3 separate regions of the Homo sapiens genome follow, and regions 2 and 3 are each linked to region 1. Evidence: promoter capture Hi-C in human tissues and cell types (Jung and others, 2019). All regions are on one chromosome and are shown on one strand. The core of a region is centred on a gene start or on the middle of the fragment in contact, and the rest is flanking DNA. Distances in the headings are between cores, read along the strand shown.

Region 1 (4,468 bases), core at 506-3,005:
CTTAGAGAAACTGTCTTAAGCTACTTAAGTTACATGAGGAGCAGTGGCAGGGGCCCCAACTCGCATGCTCTGACCACATGACCACATCCACACACCCAGGATCCTTTCCCTGCTTATGCCACACAGAATCAACCACATGATAATTATGGGGAGGTTTTCTTCTGTGCTTTTTTTTTTCCAGTTAAAAAACAAATAAAAACATGAATGAGTTTATAATTTTATATTCAAACCCCACACCCATGCAATCACATGCCTTAGAATTTTAAAACCCTACCCACAAAATTCACAAGGGTAAATGAACATCTACTTCCTCCTCTTACTACACACATCAAAACACTCAAGTAAAGTGTCAGGCAATCCAAGCAAGCCTGGAGCGAGATAAGGTGCATAGATAAAGTGCTGGTTTCTGTGTGATGCATATTATTTGCATAATATTTACATTACTCATTCAAGGCTGGGAATTACCACTTTAAAATAAAGTATATTGAATACCTTTTTGGATTTCCCCGATTTTCAAACATTCTTCTGAATATATAACAACTCCCAGAAACCAATTCCTTTCTCAATCATCCTGGGAGCCATCTGATGAGGATCTAATAGCTAACTTTGTAATTAGAACGCAAACATTAATGTAAGAGTACAAAAAAGACGTTGCAATGAGCAAGAGAAGATAGATTGTAGTAGTAAAGCTAAGTGATTCAATAATATTCTTAAAACATAGCACATATACATACTCTTGTTTGGTATTCCCAGTAAATGATTTTTAGATACTAAAATTTCTCAGTAGCTTTTCTATACTAATAGCCTTCAAACTATTTCTGTTCTGTATTTTACCTTTCAACCAAACTTTCTATGGCTTTCAGTTTTCCAGTATATTTCTTCCCATTTATTGTACATTTCAAATAATACTTTTCTTTCCTCTATCCCATTTTTAACTACATTAAGAAAAATTCTGAAAGCCTTTTGGCTTGAAACCAGAATTCAACGTTCCAGTTCAGCCAGTAATGAGTCATGTTCTTTTTTTTTTGCCCAGGGCATGTCCTGGTTTACTCTTTAATTTACTGAAATGAAAAGGCTGCTTTTGGGGGCATGTTAAGACTCGCTCCATTAGCTATAAGACAGATAGGGGGATGAATTCTAAATATCTTACTTCCTGCTTTGGAAAATGCCTTTAAACTCTTCTGTTTTCACTTCTCATTAAGATCACATTTTAGGATTACCTGGCGTATTGCCCCATGACCCATACTCCCACACTTTTTTTTAACTCACCGGCTGCCTTTTTACACCTAGCCAATTTTTCCAGACCAGGATCTGAAGCTGATGAAACAGGGAAGCCATCCTTCAAATGCCCCAAATGAGAGATTTCCTCTTCTTTTCTCCACTCCACAAATGAAGAACTGATGCCCCGTCCAACTTGCTGTATGTCAGTGTATCAGTACCCCTTTCACGGCATAGCTTCCTTGAGGGCTGGGGTAAGAAACCCACAGTTCTTCTGTTTCTGCTGGATTTTTCCCTGTGGTTAATCCTTAACCAAGAGGCACTTCTCAATCAACTCTTCTTCCAAAAGAAGGACCCAGATCAGTATCTTTGGGTGGCTTATGCTTATTTTAAAATAATATCCAGTTGCTGCTTGTTGCACGAAGTCCAGACTCAAGAGAGAATGAGCATCATTCAGATAATGCCTCACTGAAAAAAAAAAAAAAGCAGCAGCTGAACCCACACCTCCTACTCTCCATGAAATTAATTGCCTATCCACACCTTAGAGAACATGTCACCTGCACTGGATGCGTCACAGGGACTAGGGGGTGGGACCTTTGCAAGGCCAGTAGGACTTGTCCTACATTCTCTTGTCTTCTTTCCTGCACACAGTGTCTGCTCTAGCAGAGGCAGGGCACAGAGAGCATTTCACAGACACTGGGCCCAGTGACTCTTTAATATTAAAGTGTCATTAAAATGATTTAAGTCAATAAGGCCAGAGCTTAGCTGCAAAGCTCTGAGCCTCAGCCCATCATTAGATATACTAGGGAAAGTGTCCACCTTTAACCTAAAGTTGAATGTTTCGATTTTGGGGGAAGAAACTATGTTGGCCAGGTCCCACCTTTCATCACAATGTACTAGGTTAAGCACAGGGCAGAAAAGGAAAGGTAGGCTGTAGGGGACATAAATTACAAACTGGAGTCCCTCAATTCGTGAGTGGAGATTCACGTGTCTATTACAGACAAGCCACATTGTTTCAGGCTCTTATAGTGAAAGGGGACACAGGCTGATCCAAGACATTTCTATTTCCTCTTTCCATGATACATTCCTCCCTCTCTAAGATCCTGCCTTTCAAAGTTATCCCCAAGTTGACATCTTCAATGAAGCCTTTTTGGATATATCCCATAGGATAGATTCTCTTGCCTTTGAATCATTCTTTGTTGCCCTCTCTCAAGGAACTTAAAGTTTTTGCATTATTTTTATTTGTGTATGTCTTATTTTTCCTACAAGATTATAAATTATTTGAGGACATGGACTATTTTATATCACAGTACTTTACATATCATTAGTGTTCAATACTTGCTGCTGAATGTAATTGAATAAACTACTGGAGCCAAGGCTAGTAGGGTGAAGCTCCCCTTTGATCCTCACACCTACCCTGACTAATCCAGACTTTACTTGCAAAATCCGTTAAAGCATTAAGAGTTCTCCCTTCGCCAGGTGCGGTGGCTCATGCCTGTAATCCCAGCAATTTGGGAGGCCGAGACGGGCTGATCACTTGAGGTCAGGAGTTCAAGACCAGCCTCGCAAACATGGTGAAACCCCGTCTCTACTAAAAACACAAAAATTAGCCAGGCATGGTGGTGGGCACCTGTAATCCCAGCTATTTGGGAGGCTGAGGAGGGAGAATCGCTTGAAACCGGGAGGCAGAGGTTGCAGTGAGCTGAGATGGCGCCACTGCACTCCAGCCTGGGCAAAAGAGTGAGATTCCATCCCCCCTCCAAAAAAAGGAATCTAGCACAGGTCCTGCCTCATAGTAAGTAGTCAATTAATTCTATTAATTGGGTAGCAATGTTTGCTAAGGACTTATTGAATCATCCTAGGAGTCCTATTATATAGAAACTGTCATTATTCCCATTTTCAGTGAAAGAAAGTGATATTTAGAAGTGCCATAACTTGCTGGATTTCACCTAGTTAGCAGTGAGGACAGTGGGAACAGCAGAGAAGGAACTCGAACCTCGTTTCTGTACTGTTAATCTCTGTGCTATGTTTTCTCCAGTCCCATGTATTACACTTCACAGGAAGAGCTGAGAAACAAATGAACATCAGGGATTTTCCCTGTTTCTCTAGGCAGGTCTATAAATCACTTGTAGAGATTTTTTTGTAAGTACACGCATGAAAAATTATGGCCAAAATGAGTTCACAAAGAGTAGTTGCTCCAGGAATTCAGGAGAAGGAAGGCTGCTCTTTTAGGCTTCTTCATAGAGCCTCACGGCACTTCCCAGCCTGGCTCTTGCCAGCTTCATCAGTTGTCTCTCCACCTTCAGCCCTCCCTCCTGCCATCTGCTAGAATACTTTAGATGAGGACTGTTCACTTTCAGGCTTTGGTCATGCTGTTCCCTCTGCCCAAAATGAAATTGTGCTCATTCTCAAATGACTGACTCAAGTGTAACTTCCCCTCTGAAGCCTTTTCCAGCACTTCCACCCACCACACCCCCACCCCCGGCTGAATTAATCACCCCTTCATCTGTTTTCCCATAAAGCTTTGTTCGCACAGATAGCCAACTCCCTTATTACCTTCTAGTATAGTCAGTCTGTCTCTCTGTCCATACTCTGAGCCCCTTGAGTACAGGGACCAAGTCTCATGGAACACCACAATTTTGAGATAAATTCTGTATTCCTGAATGGTGAGAATTCTGACCCAACTAAATCTAAGAGCTGGTCTGAAGTAGTAGAAGATAAAGTTGGAGAGTTAGGGACCTAAAGCCAAAGAGGAGGAGATGTCATATTGCGGATTTAAAATGAAAAGTTCCTGGAAACTCTTCTTAAGAGATAGAGTATGATAAAGCCGATGCTGTGGGATGATGAAAATGTTAGTAGAATGAGAAACTGATTGAAGTTGAGACTTGAAACCCTGTTTTTGAATAGAAAAAACAAGTGAATTGAGTTAGTGATGATGTAAAACAGTTCAGAAATTTTAACAGCAACCAGATTATAATTTTACTCCTTTGTCTCAGCACTGGTTGTTGTGTATAGCATCAGTGACAACTTTGTTTGTTTGTTTGTTTTACCATCAACTGACTTTTACATTAAGGTGCTATGGGATACTCATTGCATACAGGACCTGTGAGGTCAACATTATTTTACCTGCTGTATACGTGAAGATGCATAGGACAAGTAGCTTCCTGAGGTCACACAGATAATGGGTGTCAGAACATTAATTTGAACCCAGGTTTCTGTGTCTGCAAAACCTGTTCTCCAACAGGCCCTA
Region 2 (4,468 bases), core at 716-3,215, 220 kb before region 1:
GCCCTACACTTGTCCTAGACTTGTCTTCTCTCAGTTCAGCAATCCCATGAGAAGGAAATGTCTCTTCCAAAATTTAAATATTAATTCAGGAATGATTGACTAACTTTGCTAGAGTCTTGTGTCAATCTCTAAACTAATCAAAGTGGTTAAGAGAATTAAGATGCTCTGGCCATCTAGGGTCATATGCACACCTAATTGCTGGGATGAAGAGGGGCCACCATAGTCACCAGCTTCATTGAGACAACCTGGAATGGGAACAAGGGAACCACAGAAATAAGAAAAGAGACTAGGGGCCAGGCATGGTGGCTCACACCTGTAATCCCAGCACTTTGGGAGGCCAAGGCAGATAGATCATTTGAGGTCAGGAGCTGGATTTGAGGTCAGGAGTTGGAGACCAGCCTGGCTAACATGGTAAAACCCCATCTCTCCTAAAAATACAAAAATTAGATGGGCATGGTGGTCCGTGTTTGTAATCCCAGCTACTTGGGAGGCTGAAGCTTGAGAATCACTTGAGCCTGGGAGGCGGAGATTGCAGTGAGCTGAGATTACGCCATTGCACTCCAGCCTGGGCAACAGAGTGAGACCCTGTCTCAAAAAAAAAAAAAGGAAAGAAAAGAAAAAGGTTGGGATAGAATTTAGGGCAGATAAAAAATATAGCTTAATACCATAATTTAATATATCATCTTTTTTGCTATAAATCAATTATTTAACCCCTTTGATACTTGTTCCCATCTAGGGGCAGTAATACTGCACAGGGTTGCTATGAGGTTCAAATGATTTTAAACATGTAAAGTTTTTTCATAAAAAGTGAAATTTTATACTTATGTAATTGTTAACTATTATTAAATCTAGATTAGTTCATCAGTGGCTGGCAAAATGTGAACAGATACAGAAGCTGACCTTCTGTGATTTGTAACAATAGCATAGATGTCGACAAGAGTCAATCACACAGGCTTTTACCACTTCTACTCAATGTAGTACTGGAAATTCTAGCTGGAACAATTAAGCAAGGGGAAGAAAAGGCATGCAAATTAGAAAAGAAGAAGTAAAATTATCTCTGCTTGCGGATGATATTATACGTAGAAAACCTAAAATTTTCACATAAAAAAAATCCTGTTAGAACTAATAAGTGAGTTCAGCAAAGTAGCAGGATGGAAAGTAAACACAAAACTAAGTTAGATTTCAATATATTAGTAATGAACAATTTGGAAAAGAAATTAAGACAACAATTTTAGGCCTGGCACATTGGTTCATGTCTATAATCCCAGCACTTTGGGTGGCCGAGGCGGGAGGAACACTTGAGATCAGGAGTTCGAGACCAGCCTGGCCAACATGGTGAAATCCTGTCTCTATTAAAAATACAAAAATTAGCTGGGCATGGTAGCAGGCACCTATAATCCCAATTACAGGAGAATTGCTTGAACCCGGGAGGTGGAGGTTGCACTGAGCTGAGACTGTGTCACTGCACTCCAGCCTGGATGACAACAGCAAAACTCCATCTCAAAAAAAAAAAAAAAAAGAAAGAAAGAAAAAGAAAGGAAAGAAAACAATTCTGTTTACAGTAACACCTACTATGATCTGAATGTTCGTGTCCCTCCAAAATTCATGTGTTGAAATTTAACAATCAGCGCAGTGGAGCTGAGAGGTGGGACATCTGGAAGGTGATTAAGTCATAAGGGCAAAGCCCTCATAAATGGGATTAATGTCTTTGTAAAAGAGGCCTAGGGGAGCTTATTTGTCTTCTGTGTCATATGAGGACTAGCAAGAAAGTGTCATCTATGAAGTGTAGGCTGCCAACAGATACCTATGAATCTGCTGGCACCTTGATCTTTGACTTCTCAGCTTCTAGAACTGTGAGCAATACATTTCTATTGTTTATAAATTATTTAGTCTAAAATATTTTGTTCGGGAAGCCAAAATGGACTTAGATAGCATCAAAAAGAATAAAATACTTAGAAACCAACTTAACCAAGAAGGAGAAAGACTTGTGCAATGAAAACTATAAAACAGTGCTGAAAAAGTAAAGATACAGGTAATTGGAAGCACATCTCATGTTCATAGACTGGAAAACTTACTATTGTTAAGATGTCAACACTACCCAAATCTATCTATAGATTCAACGCAATTCCTATCAAAATCCCAATGACATTTTTTTGCAGAAATAAAAAACGCCAACCTAAAATTCATACAGACTCTCAAGGGGTCCCAAATAGCCAAAACAGCCTTGAAAAAGACAAACCAAACTGGAGGATTCACACTTCCTGGTTTCAAAACTTACTACAAAGCGACAGTAATCAAACAATGTGGAACTGGCATAAAGACAGGTATACAGACCCATGGAACAGAATAGGGAACCTAGAAGTAAACCCTCACATATATGATCAAATGATTTTTGACTAGGGTGCCAAGTCCATTCAGTGGGGAAAGAATAGTCTTTTCAACAAATGGTGTTGGAAAAACTAGATATCCATATGCAAATGAAAGAAGTTGGAATACAAAATTAGTTCAAAATGAATCAGGAACCTAAATGTCAGTCCTAAAACTATAAAGTCCTTAGGAAAAAAAACATTGAGTAAAAGCTTCATAGCATTGAATTTGGCAATGACATTAAAGGCATAGAAAACAAAAGGAAAAACAGACAAATTTGAACTTCATGGACATTTTTAAAAATCATGCATCAAAAGGCACTATCAACAGAGTAAAAAGGCAACTGACACAATAGTGAAAATATTTGTAAATAATATATTTTATAAGGGATTAGTATCCAGACTGTATAGAGATCTTCTACAGCTCAATGACAAACAACCCAATTCAAAAATGAGCAAAAGACTTGAATAAACATTTCTCCAAAGAAGATATAAAAATAGCTAATAAAAACATGAACAGGGCTGGGCGCGGTGGCTCATGCCTGTAACCCTAGCACTTTGGGAGGCCGAGGCAGGCAGATCACGAGGTCAGGAGATCGAGACCATCCAGACTAACACGATGAAACCCTGTCTCTACTAAAAATACAAAAAGTTAGCCTGGCGTGGTGGTGGGCACCTGTAGTCCCAGCTACTCAGGAGGCTGAGGCAGGAGAATGGCGTGAACCTGGGAGGCGGAGCTTGAGATAAGCAAAGATCGTGCCACTGCACTCCAGCTTGGGCGACAAAGTGAGACTCCATCTCAAAAACCAAAACCAAAACCAAAAACAAACAAACAAAAATCATGAAAAGATGCTCAACATCACTAATCATTAAGGAAATGCAAATCAAAGTTGCAATGAGATACCACCTTACACCCATTAGGATGGCTACTACCAAAAAAACCAGAATATAATAATTGTAATAATTGTTGGTAAAGATGTGGAGTAAATAGAACCCTAGTGCAGGGTTGATGGGAATGAAAAATGCTATTGTTGTGTGTGGAAACAGTATTATAAATTAAAAATATAATTATGTGATAATTCATATGATTCAGCAATTCCGTTTCTGGGTATATACTACAAAGAATTGAAAGAAGGGTCTTGAAGAAATATTTGTACATCCATGTTCATTATTAACAACAGCCAAGAGGTAGAAGCAACTCGGGTATTCGTTGACCAATGAACAGATAAGCAAAATGTAGTATATACATACAATGGAATACTATTTAGCCTTAAAGAGGAAGGAAATTCTGACATATACCACAACGTGGATTAACTTTGAGGATATTATGCTTAGTGAAATAAGCCAGCCACAGAAAGACAAATACTATATGATTCCACTTATATTAAGTAGCTGGAGTAGTCAAAATCATAAAGAAAGAAAGTATAATGGTGATTGTTGAGTTGGAGAGGGGAGAAAGGAGATTATTGTTGAATGAGTATAGTTTCAGTTTTACAGGATGAAAATAGTTGTAGAGACAGATGGTGATGGTTGTACAGCATTATAAATGTATTTAATACCAGTTAATTGTACACTTAAAAATGATTAAGATCATAAATCTTAGGTGTATTTTACCACAGTGAAATAATTAGCAGAAAGTCAACCAAAGAGTTAGTGCCTTAAACAGAGAGGAATAAAAATTATCTCGAAGATTGGGGTGGACAGGATTATTAATTACACACTTAAGCAAATACTGACTAGAATCTTTTGGAAAGGGTACTTTGAGGGAAAAATATTATCAAAGAAAAAAATGGAAGTTAAGGCTGCATAGGCAGTTAGATTTGAATCTACCTATGAGTTTTAGCTATCTATTGCTGCGTAATACTATTGCCACAGATTTGGTGGCTTCATACAACACATGTTTATTATCTACCATTTCTATGGGTCAGGAGTCTGGGTGCATCTTAGCAGAGTTCTCTGTAAGGCTGTAATTAAGGTATTGTCTAGGGCTGAGTTCTTATCTGCATACCAGACTGGGGAAGAACCTGTTGCTAAGCTCAGATGGTTGTTGGCAGCATTTACTTGCTGGTTGTGAGACTAAGGGTCTCAGTTTCTTGCTGGCT
Region 3 (4,468 bases), core at 1,119-3,618, 180 kb before region 1:
CTGGGTCAATGGCATGTGTATTTCTTCTCATTTATGATGCTGTCTTCACTTTTTCTTAATCTTCTTTTCCCAAACTCATTGCCAACATGCTCCACACTCAATCCTCTTTCCCCATTTCTGCCTTGAAAGTGTTTTCCATTTTCCCAAACTCAACTCAAAGACTACATCTTTTGTTCATTTACATATTTTCACTTCACCACTGTACCTTAATCTATTTAAGGTTAACAACTGTGCTTATTTAATTTTATTCCCTCACTCAACAGCAATAGTTGCAGTCACATATTAAGATTTGATAACTACTTACTAGAATAAAATAAATAGTGAATTATGCTAGAATTTTTTAAAAGTTTTTGAGCCAAACATTTCCATATTACCAATGGAAAAGCTTAGACTATTGACTTCTTTCTCAATAGGTTGAATTGAGTTCTGTTTTAGATGTCAAACGTTATGTTTTCATTATATTTACCTGAGTTTCTTTATCAGGGATTCGTTGATTAAGAGTCGCAAGGAAAAAAACATGGTGCCCTGAGAAACCAAAGCCACAAACATTGCACCTAGTTTATTCATCTCAAAGGTTTCATTTGGGTATTCCACTCCATATGCTTTTAAGAAGTCTAGGACCGACTGTTGTTGAGAAAGTTCAATCAAACCGTAGCCAAAACAGAATTGTGGGAAAATCAGGAAAATGCGCTTGAGGGTTTCAGAAATAAGTTCTAAAGTCTGAAATAAGAGAAATAAAAATAAAACTCAGTGTTAAGTTTCCAAAAAGCTGACAAAAATTTAAAACTAGATGGATGTAGACAAATAGTGAAACCTAAAAAGCTTATCTAGATTGGCAATTATTTCCCATATAGGCTGAATTTGCATACAAATATTTAGTATACTAAATGGTGGATGTTTATCACTGAAATACAAGCAGAAAATCATTATATGAGGCCACCTATAATGTTGGACCTAATCCTGGAGGCAAAATTATTTCTAGACCTACCTTTAATCCCAGGAATGTAGGGCTAGCCAGTGTGTTGGGGTCTGTTACACGGTATCATTATGTGCCTGAGGGAGGGAGGTACTTGGTACAGTAAAGTTTTGGAACCCAAGGTAATCCCTACTTGGAGAGGGACTAAAATGCTGAAATGAGGTAGAAGAAGAGCCAACATGTCTCGAAGAGGGACAAATAGCTCATTTTCACATTATTCACACGTGGGCCAACTACTTCCACTTCATGAATTTTCTTCCTTCTCCCAGAGTATGCTTGTCTAGTCCTCAGTTCACTTCATTTCCTCTCTATTCTTTTCTGTTCAATTGCCTGACACTGTTAGTGCTTCTCTTCTCACTAATCGTAATTGTCAGCTCTGAATGGAAAGTGATGCTTACAATGAAGTAGTCTCCAATACATGATTGAAAGGGGATGAATTAGGTTTTTTCTCTATGAATGTTCAAATGAATCAAAGCTCACAGTCATATAACTAAGTCGTTGTCCTTGTCACCACCATACCATAAGAACTTGTTAATGAGTAAGATGTTTAGCTGACCAATGGTTGCGTGATTTATGTAGTGCCGCACAATACATCTGATTTCACCTCTGTCACCACATTCAAGCCCTATCAGGTGTCAATAGTTTTGACGCTCAATACATACAATGATAGGCATTAACTTAGATGAGGCCCAAAAAGAATTTTAAAAGCTGTAGTTTCTCCTCTCCCAAATTTAATAGAATCAAATGATATTCTTCTTTTTTATGTAGAATAAATAAAATCTTTCCACCTGGAACATGTTGAAGCTTTTGATAAATTCACTGAAATAAGGGACCTTACCGGATCATTAGGCTTTTCCTTGGAAAGAAAGTATACCACTGACAGGGAAACAATGGAATTAATGCCAAAAAACAAGTTGACACAGACGTAAGTGATGAAGGCCATTCCTGTTTCATGGAAGAGCCCAGCCAGCAAGTACATCCAGGAAAATGTTGCATACCTGCAGGTTAAAAACACAAAGAATTAAAATTACGCCTCGGCCAGGCATGGTGGCTCACACCTGTAATCCTAACACTTTAGGAGGCTGAGGCAGGTGGATCACTTGAGCCCAGGAGTTTGAGACCAGCCTGAGCAACTTGGCAAAACCCTGTCTCTACAGAAAAATATGAAAATCAGCCAGGTGCGGTGGCACGCACCTGTAGCCCTGGTTATTTGGGAGGCTGAGGTCGGAGGATCAAGCTGTGGTGAGCTGTGATCATGCCACTGCACTCCAGCCTGGGTGACAGAGTGAGATCCTGTCTCAGAAAAGAAATGCCTTAATTATTCTATTTTACAAAAAATAACAATTTAGATGGGCTTCCAAAGTAAAAATAACCATTAGGGATGAGTTGTCAAGCCTTCTAACTAGATCTCTCTTTCATTCCTTTTTGACAAAAAAAATCCAAAGAGTTTTTTTTAAAGACAGTAAAAAGCCTCTTTAAGAAACCTTGAGTAGTTCTACATCATTAAAACTACAAATTAATCCCTCCTGAATATGGTATTATCCCGCCTAGGCAAGCCTTTTAGGTTGCTCAGAAATATGAGTTTAATCAGTATAAATCTTATAATTTAAAGTTGAGGAAAAGTAATGACACTGTTCAAGTCTAGCTGAGCAGAAAGAGCATGCTTAGAAGCTGGCTAGCCTGTTTTGAGCAAAACCTTGAGCAATTTGGGGGGCAATTAAATAGATCTAGAGACAGAGTTCCTGCATTAGCTACAATTGCTAATTAAGGGTTACTACCATGTATTCAGGGCAGAAAGATTTGTTATGCTAAGCATTGATTATATCAGCCTGTGTTACCTGTATTAGCTTAAGATAGAAACAATATTATGTGTGTGTCCTTATACATCTATAAAAAGATAAATATAAGTAAGTATACATGAAGGTATATGCACTTCATAATGCTACATATACTCATATAGTCAATACATAAATTTATACATGTATACACATTTTCTCATCATTCTAAAGCTTTCATTTTTATGTAAATGAGATCACATATGTAAATTAGAAAGCATGACACTTGGCACCCAATAAATGCTTATTAATTTTAGGTATTACTATTAATAACAACATTAATTTTCAAAAGTATTATACTTTGCAGTCTATGGACTAGCAAGTGCAATGTGTTGTTAGTCATCACTCATGTCAAATGAAACCCCAAGACAATTGTAATTTAGCTAATGAGATTTAAGTCCTATTTGTGTCTAGGGGCATTTAATTCTATTAATTCTTCTTTCATTGCTTAATCAGCAGCTTACCCAAACAGGAGAAGTAGGAGAGATACAGCGCCTAGGTTGTTTTCACTGTAGAATGCAGGTAATTTGAAAATCGCAATGATACCAATTGAAAACGCTACAGGCACCAAGTAGAAAACCTATGGAAATATTCAAAACAATGTTTAATACGTGACAAGCATTTTTCAAAAAAAAAAAAATCAATAACCCATCTAGTTTAAAACTGCAACAAGTTGACCTAGAAAAATTTGAAGAAATGAATTCTTATTTATGTTCCCATTGCTTCTAACATTCAACTTATTTTACATTGATTTCACTTTAGAATTTGTCTCCTGCAATATGAGGTTAAGCCAATCTCCATCTTTAACAGATATACAAGGAGTCCCTGGTGTTCCTGCCTCTAGGCTTTGAGACTTGGGATGGTTCAGTGACAGAGGTTCAGTGAGAAAGATAAGACAGCCAGGTATCTTGGTATTACATTCAGTCCTCAAAGTATTGATTTCGTTTTGAATGCTGGAACTTTCTCAGATGGTTGATTTCTAAAGCTTGGTTATCAGTGTGAACCACTCTGTGCAAAGCAGCAGGGCATCAGGTCCCACATATCCTCATAATCACAGGTATACGAACAAAGAACTTAGCATTTTGTTGGCAAGTAGAAATATTTATTAAATGCTGAGGAGTTTGCAGGAAGATGGACACAATGAAGGTGGTGGTAACTTAATTTGCAGGGTGGGGAGGAATCTCCTAAATTGGAATGAGCTCCAGATATAAGACAACAGAATCCTAAAGTACTAAGTAGACCTTCACAGAAGTATGTACTTGAAATTTTCTTAACATTAAAGCTCCTGTTAAGTCCTGAGAAGTCATTACTATTCTTTTAGATTTGACTTCTACAACAAACACATTTTAGACCTCACTGGATACATTAACAAAATGGATATGCAGTTAATTACTCTCCAACCCTTTAAGCCGATGATCTTGACAGCAACTCAGACAATTTCACCATAATCACCAGGCAAATGCATACCCATCCTGGGCTTTTGGCCAACATTGGTATGTTTGGAGTCCAGAACAACCATCTGAACTTGGGACCATTTTATGCAAATGAGAGAGCTATCAATGAAATACATCCCTTCTTTTTCCTACTAATCTTCTCTAATGTGTCATTAGCAGGGGCTACTACTTCGCATTTTCCACTATTAGTTGATTAAATTTTT

What was found. Contacts are between HindIII fragments. The study calls those that stand out against the background at their distance.
Region 2: a contact is called between a fragment that was not itself captured here and the fragment with the promoter of ABCA12 in region 1, in 2 of the 25 tissues and cell types used here (mesendoderm cells and spleen).
Region 3: a contact is called between a fragment that was not itself captured here and the fragment with the promoter of ABCA12 in region 1, in 2 of the 25 tissues and cell types used here (pancreas and spleen).

What each region holds. Positions count from the first base shown.
Region 1 is chr2:215,136,871-215,141,338 of GRCh38, forward strand. ABCA12 (ATP binding cassette subfamily A member 12) reads right to left here and starts at 1,756. Exons shown (of 53, transcript NM_173076.3): 1 at 1,270-1,756. The coding sequence starts at 1,338. The HindIII fragment of the contact is 12,690 bases long and covers 1-4,468 here.
Region 2 is chr2:214,917,204-214,921,671 of GRCh38, forward strand. The region is part of intron 2 of SNHG31 (small nucleolar RNA host gene 31); the gene reads left to right. Among named protein-coding and RNA genes, the nearest start is that of SNORA70I, 72 kb to the left of the region's middle. The HindIII fragment of the contact is 5,514 bases long and covers 1-4,468 here.
Region 3 is chr2:214,953,388-214,957,855 of GRCh38, forward strand. It overlaps ABCA12 (ATP binding cassette subfamily A member 12), which reads right to left. Exons shown (of 53, transcript NM_173076.3): 42 at 3,276-3,391; 43 at 1,815-1,974; 44 at 467-720. The region is part of intron 3 of SNHG31 (small nucleolar RNA host gene 31); the gene reads left to right. Among named protein-coding and RNA genes, the nearest start is that of SNORA70I, 110 kb to the left of the region's middle. The HindIII fragment of the contact is 3,531 bases long and covers 604-4,134 here.